2 separate regions of the Homo sapiens genome follow, and region 2 is linked to region 1. The links are contacts of gene promoters, found by promoter capture Hi-C in human tissues and cell types (Jung and others, 2019). All regions are on one chromosome and are shown on one strand. Each heading gives the region's core, a stretch centred on a gene start or on the middle of the fragment in contact. The rest is flanking DNA. Distances are from core to core; before and after follow the strand shown. Region 1 holds the start of MARVELD3 (MARVEL domain containing 3). Region 2 has its middle 18 kb from the start of CHST4.

Region 1 (2,720 bases), core at 136-2,635:
TTACGTAGACTTTGTTCTTTGGTTAAAAATGTAGCGTCTCCCATCTGACTTTTTTTTTTTTTTTTGAGACGGAGTCTCGCTTTGTCGCCCAGGCTGGAGTGCAGTGGTGCGATCTCGGCTCACTGCAACCTCCGCCTCCCGGGTTCAAGCGATTCTCCCTCCTCAGCCTCCCAAGTAGCTGGGATTACAGGCATCTGCCATCACGCCTGGCTAAGTTTTTGTATTTTTAGTAAAGACGGGGTTTCACCATGTTGGCCAGGCTGGTCTCGAACTCCTGGCCTCAGGTGATCCGCCCGCCTCGGCCTCCCAAAGTGTTGGGATTACAGGCATGAGCCACCGCGCCGGCCCACCTGTTTCTGAAGGCACCTATTCCTGGGAGGGGTAACACATTAAACTATTAACTCTTCATCGGGCTTCCCAAGTGGGCGGCCCGGCCACAAGGAAGGGGACTTTGGAGTCGGGAAGGGCTGGCTCTGGAACACGGGACAAGGGTCTGAACCCCAAGGCGCAGTCCTGTGACCATGCGGGCCGGGCCGGGGAGGAGCCTGGGGTGAACCCCACCCGCCTGGTCTCCTCCCACCCCTCCCTCTCGGGTCCCGGGGCCTCTCTTTCTCTTCTCCAGGTCCTCCAGCCCAGCCACTGCTCACAGGGGTGGTTTTTGCTTTGTTAGTTGGGTTCAGGCCACGAGAAGGGGGAACCCTAAAGTTTTCCTTCCCTGCCAGGTCGCCTCTGAGAGCGCAGAAGGGAGAAACGGCATTTGTTCATTTAAACGGGCTCCTAGGACGAGAACCCGGGGACGCCAGGGCCTCGCGGGCCGGCCTGGGCCACAGGTGTCCCCGGCGCGGAGGTCGCAGCGCCCCGGCCCCTCTCACCTTTCGGGTCTGCGGCGCCCGGGGTCTCCCTTCCTCTGCGGCTGCGGCGGCTCCGGGGCTTCCCAGGGCGCGGGCCCAGGAGGCGCGGCTGCGTCCCAGGTCAGTCCCCGGGCTCCGTCCCGCGTCCGGCTTTGGCGCGGTTTTTCCCAAACTCCGTGTTCACCTGCGCGAGGGCCCGCGTCCCTGTGTGTGTCCCGGCGGGGGCCTCGGTCCGGGTCTCTTTCCCTCTCTCTCTCCCTCTCCCGGTCCCGGTTCCGGTCGCGGTTCCCGTCCCTCTCCTGGTCTCTCTCCGGGTCCCGGTCCCCGTCCCTTCGCCGGTTCCCGTCGCTGCTTCGCTTCCTGCGCGGGTCCCCGGGTCGGTCCCGCGGTCGATCGTGGGTGCGGCCTTGGTCTGGGTGGGGGCGCCGTCCCGGGTCCCGCTCTCTCGGCCGGGCCCGGGGCTCGCGAGCCCCCGACGGATCTTCCATGGCCGGGTTCCGTGTCCCCGCCCGGGAGCGACCTGAGGGCAACAACCAACAAGTTTCTTGGGCAGGTGGCCAAGCCCGGGGGCGGGGCGGGCACTCACCTGTGCGCATGCGCGCTAGTCCGGGAGCTCACCTGAGAACGGGCGCCCTCAGGGGGCGGCCTGAGCGCGTCTGGGGCCCGGGCGGGAGGGGTGCCTGTGTGCTGGGTGGGGGCTGGGGTGCTGCTGCTGGAAACCCGGGCGGGGCGACCCACAGCCGCACCTTTCTGCCCCGAAGTAACCCCTTGGTGACCCCACGAGGTGGGCGGCCTAAGGGAGCCAACTGTGGCCACCTCCCCTGGCTCAACTTACACTGCAACTTGGATTTACCTTCCCAGAGGTACCCATCCTCTCACTCACTCAGCCAGACACTCATTCATTCACCCAATCACCCACTACCCGCTCATCCATTCACCCACCCATCCACCCACTCACCCACCCATCCACCCACTCACCCACCCATCCACCATCCATCCACCCATCCACCCACTCACCCACCCGTCCAACCATCCACCCATTCAACCACTCACCCATCCATACACCCGTCTATCCACCTATCCACCTACTCACCTACCCATCTAACCATCCACCCATCCATCCATCTATCCACCCACTCACCCACCCATCCACCACCCATCTACCCGCCCACTCACCTGCCCATCCGCCCACCCACCCACCCTCCATCCATCCATCCACCCATCCACCCACTCACCCACCCATCCACCCACCCATCTACCATCCGCCCACTCACCCACTCACCTGCCCATCCATCCACCCACTCACCTAACCATCCACTCTCACCCACCCATCCACCATCCATCCACCCACCCATTCACTCATCCACCCATCCACCCACCCACTCACCCACCCATCTACCAACTCACCCATCCATCCACCCATTCATCCACCCACTCACCCATCCAGCCACCCACCCACGCATCCACCCATCCACCATTCATCCACTCACCCATTCATCCATCCATCTGGCCACTAACCTACCCACACATCCACCCAGTCACCCACCTTCCACTTCTCCCTCCACCCATCCACTGTCCCTCTTTCTCCCTTCTCCTGTTTTCCTTATAACACCTATGTTGTAAGGGGCTTGCAGCCAGTTCATCTATCACAATAGTCCTGGGCTTACAAATAGCCCTGTTTTTTAAAATGGGGACTTACACAAAATTGGCAGCTTTTAATTCTGCCAAGTAAGGATATTACAAAATATATACAATTGCCATCTGGTAATTAATTCTTTCAGCAAATATGTATGAGCACCTGCTTTAGCAGGTACTGGAGATATAGTGGAAAATTTGCTTGCAGGGTGATTGCATTCTAGTGTGTCAGGA
Region 2 (2,700 bases), core at 163-2,662, 120 kb after region 1:
GAAATATGGGACTATGTGAAAACACCAAATCTACTTTTGATTGGTGTACCTGAAAGTGATGGGGAGAATGGAACCAAGTTGGAAAACACTCTTCAGGATATTATCCAGGAGAACTTCCCCAACCTAGCAAGATAGGCCAACATTCAAATTCAGGAAATACAGAGTACACCACAAAGATACTCCTCGAGAAGAGCAACTCCAAGACACGTAATTTTCAGATTCAGCAAAGTTGAAATGAAGGAAAAAATATTAAGGGCAGCCAGATAGAAAGGTCGGGTTACCCACAAAGGGAAGCCCATCAGACTAACAGTGGATCTCTCAGCAGAAACTCTACAAGCCAGAAGAGAGTGGGGGACAGTATTCAACATTCTTAAAGAAAAGCATTTTCAACCCAGAATTTCATATCCAGCCAAACTAAGCTTCATAAGTGAAGGAGAAAAGGAGAAATAAAATCCTTTACAGACAAGCAAATGCTGAGAGATTTTGTCACCACCAGGCCTACCTTACAAGAGCTCCTGAAGGAAGCACTAAACATGGAAAGGAACACCCGGTACCAGCCACTGCAAAAACATGCTAAATTGTAAAGACCATCGATGCTAGGAAGAAACTGCATCAACTAATGAGCAAGATAACCAGCTAACATCATAATGACAGGATCAAATTCACACATAACAATATTAACCTTAGATGTAAATGGGCTAAATGCTCCAATTAAAAGACACAGACTGGCAAATTGGATAGAGTCAAGACCTATCACTATGCTGTATTCAGGAGACCCATCTCACGTGCAGAGACACACATAGGCTCAAAATAAAGGGATGGAGGAAGATCTACCAAGCAAATGGAAAACAAAAAAAGGCAGGGGTTGCAATCCTAGTCTCTGATAAAACAGACTTTAAACCAACAAAGATCAAAGGAGACAAAGAAGGCCATTACATAATGGTAAAGGGATCAATTCAACAAGAAGAGCTAACTATCCTAAATATATATCCACCCAATACAGGAGCACCCAGATTCATAAAGCAAGTCCTTAGAGACCTACAAGAGACTTAGACCCCCACACAATAATAATGGGAGGCTTTAACACCCCACTGTCAATATAAGACAGATCCATGAGCCAGAAAGTTAACAAGGATATCCAGGAATTGAACTCAGCTCTGCACCAAGCAGACCTAATAGACATCTACAGAACTCTCCACCCCAAATCAACAGAATATACATTCTTCTCAGCACCACATCGCACTTATTCCAAAATTGACCACATAGTTGGAAGTAAAGCAGTTCTCAGCAAATGTAAAAGAACAGAAATTATAACAAACTGTCTCTCAGACCACAGTGCAATCAAACTAGAGCTCCAGTCTGGGCAACGAGACTGAAACTCCATCTCAAAAAAAAAAAAAAAATTCGGAGAGAAATTAACTCTGATTATTTTATTGGTTTGAAAATGAGGATCAGAGTGTCCAATTAGGTTATATGGTGGGTATTTTTCATAGGTGAAATGAAATAGATTTCCAAGGCTTTTTAACAAGAATGTATTTAAAACATAGGATGAGATAAAAATATTTTTATTGAAAAAATATTAAATTGGTGATGGTGGTTTGATATAAATATTTTGATTTTCCAGTAGTTTTTGAGTATTATCAACAAGTTAAACAAGGTGTATCTTAAGTGAAAGAATAATAGCAGGCTGATGCACTGTGATCCTAGTGCTTTGGGAGACTGAGGTGGGAAGACTGCTTGAGGCTAGGAGTTCAAGGTGAGCATGGACAACATAGTAAGACCCCATCTCTACAAAAATAAAAATAAGACAATTTAATGGGGCATGGTGGTGCATGCCTGTAGTCCTAGCTACTTGGGAGGCTGAGGCAGGAGAATCACTTGAGCTCAGGAGTTCAAGGCTACAGTGAGCTATGATTGTGCCACTGCACTGCACTCCAGCCTGGGTGATACACAAGACCTTGTCTCAAAAAAAAAAAAAAGAAAGAATAACCAGTATAATTAATTATAATTACCTGCCTCAAAATTAATAATTAATAAGTCTAATTAATAAAGTAAGTCTCAAAATCAATAACTAATTAATATAATAATGATAATTTCTGAAGTTGAGTATACTAGTTTCTAAAAATTAAGAGAGTGGTGACTCTGACAACTAGGGAACAAATTCTTCTGCAGGTTTCCATTTACTGGCTTTCATTAAAATTGAAGAGGAACTCCATTTCATAATGATGGATCCAGGTTGTGTCATTGATAGCTGCTAAAACCATTAGATGGAAAGATAATAACACTGAACCCACTGCACATACCATCTGTGAAGGATTCTTGCCAAAGTATAAAATCTGAATCTGACCAAGTCTTGAGATCTAAAGATCAATTTTCAGGAAATTCAGAGGCCAGAAGAGCATGTTAAACAGTAAGCCAAGGAGATGCAAAGAGACTTAAGAGAAATATCAGCCAAATGCAATTTGTGGGCCTCGTTAGGATCTTGAGTTAAAAAACCAACACTAAAAAAGAAAAGAAAAGAAAGAGAAGAAAAACCAACACTAAAATCTAAACCAAACCAAAACAAAAATATGTGTGAGACAATTAGGGGAAATTTGCACATTAGATGGATATTGAATGACTTGCATTTCTTAGGTGTACTGGTTTATAAGTTATGTTTTCAAAACATCCTTATTTTTAAGAGAGATATATATAGAAGTA

Evidence for each region. Contacts are between HindIII fragments. The study calls those that stand out against the background at their distance.
Region 2: a fragment that was not itself captured here is called in contact with the fragment with the promoter of MARVELD3 in region 1 in 2 of the 25 tissues and cell types used here (pancreas and spleen).

What each region holds. Positions count from the first base shown.
Region 1 is chr16:71,624,849-71,627,568 of GRCh38, reverse strand. MARVELD3 (MARVEL domain containing 3) reads right to left here and starts at 1,385. Exons shown (of 3, transcript NM_052858.6): 1 at 873-1,385. The coding sequence starts at 1,339. RefSeq lists a silencer at 515-564. The HindIII fragment of the contact is 11,141 bases long and covers 1-2,720 here.
Region 2 is chr16:71,507,165-71,509,864 of GRCh38, reverse strand. No RefSeq gene overlaps it. Among named protein-coding and RNA genes, the nearest start is that of CHST4, 18 kb to the left of the region's middle. The HindIII fragment of the contact is 6,114 bases long and covers 1-2,700 here.